Regions from separate parts of the Homo sapiens genome. Here region 2 is linked to region 1. The links are contacts of gene promoters, found by promoter capture Hi-C in blood cells and fetal thymus (Javierre and others, 2016). All regions are on one chromosome and are shown on one strand. The core of a region is centred on a gene start or on the middle of the fragment in contact, and the rest is flanking DNA. Distances in the headings are between cores, read along the strand shown.

Region 1 (6,591 bases), core at 1,228-3,727:
GACTTGGAAAAAAAAATGAGATTTAGGTTCATCTGTGACCAATATTACCAGTCATATCACTCCTGAATTTCACTTTAAAAATTCATTAGCTGATCTTCTTACACATCATCCCTAAGAAGTAGATTAAGAGTAATAATGGCATTTACTGAGTTCTTACTATGTGCTAGGTTCTGGGATAAGGACTTTATATACTTTATCTCACTGTTGTCCCTGTTTTCAGAAAAGAAAACTGAGCTCCGAGCAATGAAGGAAGTTGCAGATGCACATAAAACTTAAAATGGCAGAGGGAGGAATCAATGCAGACATGGAGTTCTGAAGCTTTTGCTGTTGCTCTCAGTGCATTTCTAAGGAAACCCAACGGTATCCATTTCATTGACCAATTGCTTTGTACCCAAAATTTTATTTTTCATAAGAGTTTTTCATTTTCTGACAAAAACTATTTGTTAAATAAACATAACTTCATAATTCTGATCACATCACTTGGAGCAAATTTGACTGATACATTTTAAAACACATGGATTAAAAAAAAAACTCCTTCTTTCCCGAAAAAGGAAAAAAGGAATGTATTTTTCATATTTTCATCTCCAATTTAAGGAATTCATTTTTGGAACACATATTATGCTTTAAATGGTGGTGCCAGGTAAAACTGCAAGGAAGCTTGTGCTATCTGGAGACACCCATACTTTTTTTTTTTAAGGACCATTTTGTAACTTTACAACAGCATATTGCATTTTTATATTCATGTGCCTGTCTCCTTCATTGTCCTGTGTATTAGTTTTCTACTGCTGCATGAAGAATTTAAACAGACCTAACAGCTTAAAACAACACCCATTTAATAGCCCACAGTTCTGAAAGTCGGAAGTCCCAGCACAGCCATGGCATCACTGGGTTCTCGCTCAGGTTCTGCGAAGGCTGCAATCATGGTAATAGTCAGGCTCAGTTCTTGTCTGGAAAAGACAACAAGTTTGAGAAAAAAATCTGCTTTTCAAGCTCATTCGGGTTGTTGGCAGAATTCAGTTCCTTGCAACATTGGCCTAGGCAAATAATTTATGACTAAAACCCCAAAGGAAGTGCAACAAAAACAAGAATAGACAAATGGGCCTTAATTAAACTAAAAAGCTTCTGCACAGTAAAAGAAACAATCAACAGAGTAAATAGACAACCTACAGAATGAGAGAAAATATTTGCAAACTACGCATCTGACAAAGGACTAATATCCAGAATCTACAAGGAACTCAAACAACTCAACAAGAAAAAAAAAAAACCCATTAAAAAGTGGGCAAAGGACATGAACAGATATTTCTCAAAAAAGACATACAAGTGGCCAACGAACATATGAAAAAATGCTCAACATCCACTAATTATCAGAGAAATGCACATTAAAACCACAATGAGATACAATCTCACACCAGTCAAAATGGCTATGATTAAAAAGTCAAAAAACAGCAGATGTTGGTGAGGGTGCAGAGAAAAGGAAACATATATACGTGTTGGTGGGAATGTAAATTCGTGCACAGTGCCTGGTTCAGAAGACACACTTTACAGAAAAAAGCTGGCTGAATGTTTATAACGTGTCTGTGTTTGTAGTGTTCAAGTCCTGAGGGCGAGGACCCTAGTGCATTTTCTGCAATCCAGTAATGCCTGTCCAGTATATGGCAGCCAGTGAGCACTCAACAGGTGCAATCGTTGGGCCACACACTCTTGTTTTAAAATGTGCTTTATCCTCTTGACCTTTTTAGGTTATGCAATGTGAATTCAAGCTGAATAATACTGAAGCCAGTCTTATGAGGCTCATTTCTAAGAAATATTCAGCTTTACGTAACGCAAATAAAAAATCACACACGCCCTTTGCAAGTGAACATTCATATTAGTGTCTGATAAATGCATTAAGAAGACACATTCCCTTAAATCAATCGGAGAACAGAACTTTGGTTTCTGCAAAAAGAAAAGCTCCCTTTTCCTTAGATTTTCTCAGCTCCTCCACTGCTAGCCCCAGACAAGGTCCAAGTTATCTGCAGTTCTATGGCCTCCCTTGCATTTAAATCGCATTTGGGCAAACGCTTCCTGGGCTTTCTAACTCCACAGAAACGCTAACCAGGTATTGGGCGCTCGCACCGCTTCCAGGTAACCCGCGGAGCTGCGGATTCCAGGCTCGCGCTGTGACGTCACCGGGCTCGCAAGCCGCGGCGCGGTCTCAGGCTCCGGTGATTGGCTGGGGCCCATGACGTCACGGCCCGGGGCGGCACCGCGATGGCCAGGGCCCCGGGATGCTCCGGGTTTGTTTAAAAATAAAGGGGGGGCGGGAGCGCCCAGGAAAATCCGGGCGCCCGCGGGGGTGCCGGCCGCTCCTCCCGCCGCCCCGCGTCCCGGCCCGGCCGCGCCAACCCCCACGGCGGCCCGCAAGGGGGCGGGGGGAGGCGGGGCGGAGGAGGAGCCGCGGGCGCGGCGCCGCGCTGTCCCCGGCCGCCGCCCGCCCCACTCCGCACCGCATGTAAACAGTCCCAGCCGGCCCAGCCCGGCCCCGGAGGAGCCCGCGCAGGCCGAGCCGAGCGCCGCGCTGCCCGCCCGGGAGGAGGGCGCCTAGGAGCGGGAGGGCGGGCGGCGGCGGGAGGCGGGCGCGGGGCCGCGATGGATTTCCAGCAGCTGGCCGACGTTGCGGAGAAATGGTGCTCCAACACGCCCTTCGAGCTCATCGCCACCGAGGAGACCGAACGCAGGATGGATTTCTACGCCGACCCCGGCGTCTCCTTCTATGTGCTGTGTCCGGACAACGGCTGCGGCGACAATTTTGTGAGTGCCTGGAGGAGGGACCGCCGGAGCCGGCGGGAGTGTGGACGCGGCGGTGCGTCCCTGCGCCCGAGCTCCCGCGCGGTGGGCGGCGGTGGGCGCAGAGTGGGGGGCCGTAACCCGCGCCCCGCGCCCCGCGTGCTCCGCCGGGGAAGCCCCGGGCCGGGCGGTGCGGGCTCCGCTGCCCGGGTGGGGCCCGGTGGGCGGCGGGCAAGGCGCCCGGAGGATCCGGGGAGCCGGGTCGGGGCGGGAGGTGTGGCGTCCCCCTAAAGGCCACTCCTCTCCCCGCTGCTGCGGGCGCCGTTTCGGGAACCCGACCTCGCGGCCCGTGCGCGGTGCCTGGCATGGAGCATCCCTGGGGTGTGGGTGTCACCCGCGTCGGACCAGCCGGGTCTGGGGCGCACGGACCCTCCGGCAGGAGCCCAGGTCCGGAGCTTCCCACATCCAGGCGTCCCGTCCGGGATAGGAATCCCGCTCCCCTCCGGTGCCCAGCCTCGGCTCCTCGCATTGCCCCTCCCGGGAGAACCCCACTCCCCGCCCTCGCGGGTTAGTCCTTGCACTGCCTGTTTGGACACAAAGCTCTGTCCATACTAGCGATGCCCGATCTCCTGGACCTTCTTTGCGGAATTACACCCCGGATCTTAATACGCACGCGCGCCTGCGCATACACCCCAACACACACACACACATGCTCACACCCTCACCCTCACACGCGCACACTCACGCGCACACGCGGCACGCCTCTCCCCCTGCCCCCGCGCTGCCCTCGCTGCCTCTCTGAGCTGCCCGAGAGGTGTGTGTGGCCCGGGCGGGTTCTCTCCAGCCGAGGCGGTGCCCTGGCCCTGCTGAAGCCCGTTGGCTTTTCCAGATGACGGGGAATCCCCTCAGCCCCGGCTCAGAGGGACCGGGAACTGGGACTGCGGTGTCCAAACCTTCCACTTTGAATCCTGCACCCACCTGGGATCCCGACTCTGGCAGTTGAGGAAGGGGATGCGGAGGGCAGGGGAGTCGGGGTGGGAGGGGTGGAGTAGGGCGAGCACGGTGCTCATGAAGTGTTTCCAAGGTCGGGGAATAAATAATGATCCCCAAATGTAAGATGGAGGCGGCCGTGGGCGCGGGTGACCGTGTGGTCGCGGGCCTTGTGGGCGGAGGTGGGGTGGTGCGGGGCGCGGCCTGGTGCACGCTCCTCAGGTGGGGGAGACAAAGCTGGGCCGTGGTCCTGCCGCCGAGCGCCCTGACCACCTACGGGAAGTTCGCGAAGGAGTTAGGGAGACTGCAAGACCGCCTTTCTTGGTCCTGGAGAGGTGAAGGCTTATGTATGCCTGGCCGATAAAGCATTCCCTCCGCCCACACGCACCCCCTGAGGAGGGCAGGGATCCACCTGGGCATTCCACAAGTGGCACTCCAGAAGAGGGATGGCCTTGTGTGACAGCCAGATTTGAGTTCTGGCTCTGTGACTGTGCTCAAATACCCACCCTGAGCTCAGTTTCCACATCCAAAAAAATAGGTATAATAATGCCAGCACCCAGGCGTTCATATAGGTAACGCACCGAATAGTCCCTAACACACAGCAAGAGCCCCACAAATTTGGGGTTAGAGACCTGGGGTTTCCCAGAATTTAGAGCTTGTCTCATTTTTTAAAGAGCCTTGGTTTTCCCACCTGTAAAATGGGGCTAATCAGAATACCTCCAGAAGAGCCAACTGAACAATAATATTAATGCCTGTAAGCCCATCTTAACTGTAGGTAAAGTAAGTAAATAAGTGTTCTTTTTGGAAGGAGTGGGAGATCATTAAAAAGGGATTCACTCCATTGCAAAAGTGTGAGAAAGCCCCCAGGATACAGTGGAAAGGGCACCAGAATCCAGCTGACTGTAAAATGTTAGGGTTTGGCTAGGGTCCCTTCCAGCTCTGGGCTTCCTTCATCTGCCAGCGCCCTTTCTCCCTCCTGACCGTGTGAAACAGGGCAAGAATGGCTCATGGTTCTGGATTTCACTGGGGAGAAGCCCACACAGCCTTCCTGCTGGGACCGCCCAGGCCATACCCAAAGAAATGACTCCAAAGACAGTAAGTGGGCCAGGAAGACAAAAGGCTGTTCTCTTGCCATGAATATGTGTATCCAACCATCGTTCAGAAGTAAGAAGTATTATATTATTTGTATCAGGCCTTTCTCTTGAGGCCACCCAGATTTTAAATATTTTCCCATCTGCATGAGAAAAATGCTTGAAAGTGTCATGTAAACTGACAATTTAAATAGAATAGATAGAAAGATAGAGGATGGGGGTGGGCAGATGATTCCTTGGGTAGAATGGAACTTTCTCCAAGTTCTGGAGGCTCTAATGGACAAGATGCCAACCTCGGGAGTTTTCCTAGCCGGACCTCTTGAATCTGTCCCAGGCCAGGTTTGTCAAGCTACTGTTTGCCTCTAATAAGTGTCCTGCCTTAGTTCTTTTCTTTTTCCCTGGAAAATGTATTAAGCATTAGACAAAAGTGTGAGATCAATGGAATTTCTATTAGTTGAAGGACTTAGCAATAAGAATGTCTACATGAGCATTTCTCAATTTACAAAAGTATTTCCACATCATTCATTCATTCATTCAACAAACATTTATTGAGGGTTTACTTTGTGCCAGGCCAGTGCTATCTAGAATACAAATAGGGTCTCTGCCTTCATGTTCCTGGGGCAATTTTTACTTGTCTAGGAAGCAGTGTGGTGTGGTGGTTAAGCACACAGGCTGTAGATCAGACTACTTGGGTTTGCACCTCAGCTCCCCGTATTTGTGTGCCTTGGGAAAGTTATTTAACCCCTCTATGCCATACTTTTTTTTTCTTTTTCTTTTTTTGAGACAGTCTTGCTCTGTCGCCCAGGCTGGAGTGTAGTGGCGTAATCTTGGCTCACTGCACCCTCTGCCTCCCGGGTTCAAGTGATTCTTGTGCGTCAGCCTCTCCAGTAGCTGGGATTAAAGGCGTGCACCCCACGCCCAGCTAATTTTTCTATTTTTCGTAGAGACAGGGTTTTGTTACGTTACTTAGGCTGGTCTCGAACTCCTGGGCTCAAGTGATCCTCCCACCTTGGCCTCCCAAAGTGCTGGGATGATAGGCGTGAGCCACTGCACCTGGCCTCTATGCCATAGTTTCTACATCTGTAAAATCGGGATGATAATATTAGTACCTCCTGAGCAGAGTTGTTTGAGAAAGGTATCTAAAGTAGGGGCAGCTTAGATAGTCTAAGCCACTGTCATTTTTCATCGTGTCTCCTAATTTGTCTCCTTGCTTATAACCTCCACCTCACTCTTACTGTAGTACTGAAGTGGAGGTACTAAATAGATCCAAAATGACTGCTTGGGGAGACTGACTCTAAGCCACTGTCTACCCAGCAGTCATTTTGGATCTATTTAAAATATAAGCCAGATCATGTCACCACTATCCCCCACCTCAGCTGAATTGACTTCCCATCTTTTATAATAAAACCTAAGCCCTTACCCTGGCCCCAAGCCCCCACATGATCTACCTTCCTGCCACACAGACCCTGCTGGTCCTCAGATGTGCCAAGCGCATTCCTGCCTCAAGGCCTTGGCACTTGCGTTCTGTCTGCCTAGAACCCTCTTGCCCCAGATCTTTCCACGGCTGGCTCCTCGATGCTCCTGAGGCCCAAGAGAAGCCTTCCTGACCACATGTTCTTAGATCTCACCCTCTTTTATTCTTCCCATAGCACTCGTTAGACTTGGCATTCTCTTTTTGGTTTTCTGCCACTGCCACTAGACTCTAAGCTTCATGAGAGCAGAGGCCTTGTCTGTGTTATCACTG
Region 2 (6,591 bases), core at 2,764-5,263, 210 kb after region 1:
AGGCTGGTCTCGAACTCCTGACCTCAGGTGATCTGCCTGCCTTGGCCTCCCAGAGTGCTGGGATTACAGGCGTGAGCCACTGCGCCCGGCCCCAGCTCTTGTTTCTTTTTTTTTTTTTAATTAGAAATAACTGTGTTGTTTCTTTTGATTAGAAATAACTGTGGTGTTTCTAATTGTATTTCTTATAACTGTATTTCTGTGTTTAGTGATTACTTTTATAATTTTATAGAATACCTCTTATTTTTAGATACTGTTTTTTTCTATGAGCAATAATGAAATTAGTGTATTTCCTATTTTTCTCCTTCCTTCCCGTGTTCTAATTTTAGTTGTTACATTACCTAATGTTTGCTTTTATACTATTAAGTTTTTTTTGTACTTCTCTTTGCTTTGTTAGCTTTAAATAATACTTTTTGACACCTAGTTATTTATATCATCTTCCCCCCATCCATCCTCACCTCTTTTAATTTTTGCTAGGTAGATACTTTATACATTATCTAATCAATGTTCCCACTTTTGTTTTAATCTTACCATTACGTAGATTCAGCTGCCACTGCTAATCCTTTTGCTTTAGTTTTTTCAGATGTCTCTTGGCTAGCTGAAGTTCATCCTCATAGAAATCCTTTCACATGGGCTCATGGGAAATAATTACCTAGATTTCTTGCATGTTTAACACAGACTGCTTATCTATGTGTCTTTTTGTTTTTTGAATAACAGTTTAACTGGGTATGAAATCTTTGGGTTATACCTTCTCTACTTGAGGACATTTTAAGCATTCTTCTGGTCTTACAAGTATAATAATGTGTTTCTGTGGAGAAGTCTGAAACCACCTGATTTGTCCTCCTTTTAAAATTGACTTAGTCTTTTTGCCAGAATGCCCAAAGAACTCTTTTTTATGACCGGTATCAACTAGGGTTGAAATTGTGTTGATTTTTTCTGGGTCAGTTTTTAGGACTTGGTGTGCCCTTTCAATATGTAGATCTAGATCTACTTTTATTTCTGTAATGTTTTCTTGAATATTATTTTTGACTACAGATAGGCATTACTGCATTTCCTTTTCTCGTTCTCTGTAGAGAACATTTTTTTCCCTCTAATTCTTAACTCTTCATTTTCTATTTATTTTTCTCATTTCTACCCCTTGATGTTCCTGTGATTTCTTCTAGTGCTTCTTCTAGTTTTACCTTCATTTTTGTAATAGCTTTTTTTTCCCCTTCCCTTCAGGTTTCATCCTCATTTGTGATCTCATCCTTGTATGTGCTTTTGGACAGTTGCTTCCTTATTTTCTTTAGTATTCATGGTAAATATGTTGATTTATTGAGGCTAGATAGTGGATATATAGTGTTCTGTTATACCATTCAGAACCTACACATTTGTATTTTAACTAGTAAATTTGGTGGTGGTCCTTCTCTTTTTTTTTTAAATTATTTATTATTTACTTTGTTCTTCCTAGCCTTTTCTGGATCAAGTTGCTTTCCTTTCCTCCAGATTAATTTAGAACTTCTATTATGCACCTTTTTGTTCTTTTAGTGGTTACCTTACTTTAGTGTATATCATTAAACATGGTTATTTTATTCTGTCAGAATGAGGGATTGTCTCTGAGTTCTTCCCCTGATACACTTGTTCACTTCCCCCACCCTCCACTGCCTCTCTCTTCAAGTCCTAGTTATTAGGAGATAATTTAGACTTCACATTAAGTTTTTACTGGCAGAATATTGCTTTTGTTTCAAAAACCCATAGTTGCGTTACAGTTCCAGATACAGCATTATCTATTTAGATTTAATTTCGCTTATACATGTTTTCTTGCTCTCTGCTGTTGTTTACACTCTTTATTTTTCTGTTACTGAGATCTTCATTCTTACTATAATTTTTGTTTGTTAGGAGCTCTTCCATGAGTAATTTTCGTTGGACAGTCTTAATGGGTAGTATAGTTTCTGAGCTATTAGACGCCCAAAATATTTTTTCATTTGCCTTTACATATGAATGCTATCTTGGGTGTATATAGGATTTTTAATTTCAGTGTTTTTTTTTTTCTGTTAAGTCTGATTTTTTTTTTTTTTTTTTTTTTTTTTTTTTTTTTGTGCGTGTGGTGGCATTTTGCTCTTGTTGCCCAGGCTGCAATGCAGTGGCACGATCTTGGCTCACTGCAACGTCTGCCTCCTAGGTTCAAGCAATTCTCCTGCCTCAGCCTCCTGAGTAGCTAGGATTACAAGTGCCTGCCACCACGCCTGGCTAATTTTTGTATTTTTAGTAGAGACAGCATTTCACCATGTTGGCCAGGCTGTTTTCCAACTCCTCAGGTGATCCGCCTGCCTCGGTCTCCCAAAGTGCTAGGATTATAGGCATGAGCCACTGTGCCTGGCCAAAGTTATTCTACTTTTTAACTTGCAGTATTGTAGATAAGAAGTCTGGCTTTGTCTCACTATTTTTTTTTAATTTTAATAACCTAGTCTTTCCATTTGGAAGCTTACAACATAATTTCTATTTTTGAAAGCCAGAATTTTTTTGTTTTTTCACCGTACTCCCATCTCTAATTAATCCTGCATCTATTTAAGTGTTTTTTCACTCTATTCCTATCTCTAATTCATCCTGCTTGAGACTTCATGAGCCCTTTCAGTCTAAAATCAAGTCTTATTTAGCCTAGGGATTACTTTCTTCTAGTATTTCTTTGATTGTTTTTTGTTTGTTCCTTTTATTCTTCCTGTGACTTCTGTAATTTTAATATTAGAGTTTTTAGATTTGTCTTCTTACAGTTTTATTAATGATTTTTGGTTTCTTTGGAGTTACTTACATGATATTTATTCTAGACTACTAATTTGTTATTTTCAGTGACTTTTTCACTGCCTCTGAAATATTAAATTGAAAAATTACGGGTTTTTTCATTCTAGGAATTTTTACTGGTAAAGTTGTCATCATTGTTGCCTCCTTCCTTCCTGTCTTCCCTCATTTATTCTGTCCCTATAGTAGGTGCCTATTTAAATTTTTTGGTGTGATTCCCCCTCATCCATTCCTGCATATACTTACATAGTTAATGATCTTTCTCAGTTATATAATGTTACGAGTTACAGAATCTCTCATTACCTATGTCGGTCATACTGTTATCTTTTTTCTCAAATAGAAAAAAATAGAATGAAAGTTATTTCTCTTTTGTGAGCCTGTTGGTCAGTAGCCTGTCACACGAAGAATTTTTGTTTGAATTTGGAAATTGTTCCTTGGAGCAGGGAGAGTTTTCATTTTCATCCCAACTCTGGCTTCTTTCTGGTGCTTTCAGTGTCAGTGAGAGCAGCCTTCCTCCCTGCTCTGTTAGATTCACTTAGGTACTGCTGACTGCTTGGGCAGTTTAAGGATTAGAGGACATTGACCAAGTCCAGTGAAAAGAAATAAACCTTTTCCCAAATCAATGTGTTTTTCACCCTTTCCTTAGAACAATTAAAAAGAAAAAAAAATCCATGGTGGTACATGCTTGTAGTCTCATCTACTCTGGAGGCTGAGGCAGGAGAATCGCTTGAGCCCAGGAGGCAGAGGCTGCAGTGAGCTGAGATTGTACCACTGCACTCCAGCCCAAGTAACAGAGCAAGACTCTGTCTCAAAAAAAATAAAATAAAACAAAATAACTTCACACTTGCTGTTTCTTGATTTTCACATGGTTGGTTACATTACCTGAGGTTTCAGATGAATCTAGATTTATATTCTCCAGGATCCAGCAATTAGTCACAGTTATTTTAGTAGTTTAGGAGCAAGGTAAAGGGGATCAAGAAAGATTTCTCAGTTGTTCATGTTGCATAAGTTCTAATTTAGCCAGAGCTGCTGGTTCTTAGATACTTGATTTTTCTAAATATGTTAGAATTTTATGTTTTGCCTTAATATCTCAGGAATGGACATTTTAAATATTTTTCCTGTTCATACATACTTTTAATACTTCACCCACATATACTAATAAACATGCAAGCATTTATTGGTAAACTTGGCACATTTATATATTCAGTACTTTTTGGTTGAGTGGCTGACACGCACTTCCTGTATAAAGAAGTCAATACACTTAAAAATGTTAAAAAAAAAAAAAAAAAAAAGATCTGACTTCAGCTGAGTCACCAAAACCACAAGCAGTCAAAGTGCTCAAGTCAGTGGCAACAACAACCCATTGCTTTGGGGCATTTTCTCTGTTCATTGGCTCTTCACTTGTTGCTTGGTGTTTTCCTTAGTCTTCTGAGATCGGTTGCTTCATTAGTTGTTCAAAAAATATTTATTGAGCACTTAGAATGTGCAAAACACTATGCTGCATGCTGGGATAAGCTAAATCTACAAGGTCCCCTGCCCTCATAGAATTTACCCTGTTTCTTTAATACAGAGGTGGCAAAGGATTGGCCACATCTGACTCACAGCCATGTTTTATTTTGCTTACACAGCATCAGAAATGTTTTTTGAGCATTCACAAATGAGAATATTCATCTGAATACCTATATTTCCACCTGCTTTAATATACATCTGGCCACCCTGGGCCTTTATTTTCCCATGGCATTCTACTCGTAAAAGCAGCTGCCCCTTTTTGATAGGACTACATGTACCGGTTTGCTTCCATTCTCTAAAAATCCCTGAAACCAAGACCAAATTCAACAGGCATTTATTGTTACAATTGTACTATTCTTTTTTCTTATAAAATAGTTAAGATGAGCTGCATCTTTAGGCATCTGAGTTTGTGACCCATGCATACTGATTATAGTCAGCCTGCTAATTATCTCATAGCCTCTAGAAGAAGCAGAAGAGAAAAAGCCTTACTTACATACTTCACTTTCAACAAAAACAGTAGTAGATATGCACATTGTAATACTACTCCTCAAATTCATTCTAACAAAATGATATCGAATCCAGATTTATAAATGTAATGATAGTTCTGATGTAACATTTGATATTTATTGTTGTATGTTGTCATAGCTGTGTGAATTGGCATTTTCCAGCTTATTTCAATATTGCTGTAGTAAAATTTTGTTTACAATCAGCTAACATTTAGTGCCTTTTACACATTTTCACATTCATTAGATTTATTTTTAATCATCCGTATTAAAGACCATGTGAGATGTAGGTATTATCACTTGCAATTTATTTTATGAAAATGAGGCTCAAAGAGGTTTGTGACTTGTCCAAAGCTCAAGCCTGTTCTTTTTCCATGAGACTGCCTTCATTTGCATTATCTCCTAAGATCTTCACAAGGATCCTAAGAGACAGGTCAAGCAGGTTTTATCATTATTACCACTTAAGATTGCAGAAAACAAACTCAGACTCCCTTCTTGCGAATAATCACGTAGCTAGTGTTCAGAACATACCTGCTCTGTTCCAGGTATCTCACTAGGCATTTGAGAGGTATTATTTATTTCTACCACTACCCTGTGAGGTAGGTACTGTTATCCTGTTATATTCCATAATAAATTGGAAGAGTTGGAGTTTGAAACTAAACTGTAAATTAAAAAAAAAAAAATTGCTACGTATTACCCAGATTGCTGGACTCTTTTATTGCCACTATGAGCCTACATACATTAAAATTTAAACATTTGTCTAATTTTAAAAGTATACAGTAATAAGCTTGAAAATCAGATAAAGATATTAGCTTTGTTGTGTTTTCAGGACTGGTGCTTTTCTCTCCTAGTGATTGAATAGAAATGAACCTGAAATTTTACTTCAAAGTATACTTTATTCTATTTTGGTCTGTATTCAATAGTTCCATTTTTTTTCTTGTTCATGTAGACAACTCATTTAGGAAAATATTTGTTTAGGTTTTAACAAATCAGTGTAATTGATTTTAAGTTTTAGTTTATTGTTGATTTGTGACAATGAGAGGGCATAGGAAAATTATCTTAGTTTGATTTCATGGTTGGGAAATAACTTGGTAATCTAATAATTTCCTAGACAACTTGTGTGACTACTTGTGGCTTGTTAGGTAAATACTCAATACTTATAAAATACTTAATCCTGAGTTAGCTTTTTAAGGTAAGTTAGGAGCAAAAAGGCCCAAGAAAGCTATGTCTAGGTGTGGAATTAGTGCTCCTTTTGTATATTGTAGCTTTTAGAGTTTGTGATTTGTGTTCCATTTTATTTTAGTTACATTTTCTTGGCGAATTCACCGAATTTCGATTTCCAGAATATTCCCAAGAGTATAAACTTTTTTTAAAAAGTCATCATCAAAAGAGTAACAAATTTTATTTCCTCCTAAAGAATAGTCTTAATTTTGCATTAAGTTTCTAACAGTGCAGATGAAGAGTAGCTACATGTTTAACGATCAATTCTTAGTTACATTTAAACTAGAGAGGCATTGAAAAAGTAATTTTCAGTGGCATCTAGGCAGAGAAGCCCAGATTAATAAACGTTATTCCCATATTTTTACTGATATATTTATCTTACAGTGAAAATGGCAACTTCCCTTTGTTAAATATCATTTCTAAGCCTATTTATATTTGAGTACAGTAATAGCTCATGGATCTGTAATTGAAAGAATTAGTTAATGTTACGTTCTTTTATACGTATAAGAGATAACTTAATATCTGAAAGTATTTATTATTAAAACTTGTGAGCCCCAACTTTTTGTTCTTTGAGTAATTGCTTTTC

The links. Contacts are between HindIII fragments. The CHiCAGO score rates a contact against its expected background, and 5 or more counts as called.
Region 2: a fragment that was not itself captured here is called in contact with the fragment with the promoter of MTURN in region 1 in 1 of 17 cell types (total CD8 T cells); the score reaches 5.3 in total CD8 T cells.

Annotation. Positions count from the first base shown.
Region 1 is chr7:30,132,509-30,139,099 of GRCh38, forward strand. MTURN (maturin, neural progenitor differentiation regulator homolog) reads left to right here and starts at 2,478. Exons shown (of 3, transcript NM_152793.3): 1 at 2,478-2,790. The coding sequence starts at 2,629. It overlaps LOC105375216 (a long non-coding RNA gene), which reads right to left and starts at 2,206. Exons shown (of 3, transcript XR_927146.3): 1 at 2,096-2,206; 2 at 809-947. RefSeq lists silencers at 2,376-2,625, 2,396-2,773, 2,966-3,105, 3,426-3,605. The HindIII fragment of the contact is 5,435 bases long and covers 1,118-6,552 here.
Region 2 is chr7:30,344,131-30,350,721 of GRCh38, forward strand. All of the region lies in intron 2 of ZNRF2 (zinc and ring finger 2), which reads left to right. Among named protein-coding and RNA genes, the nearest start is that of LINC01176, 43 kb to the right of the region's middle. RefSeq lists a silencer at 4,023-4,317. The HindIII fragment of the contact is 3,111 bases long and covers 2,459-5,569 here.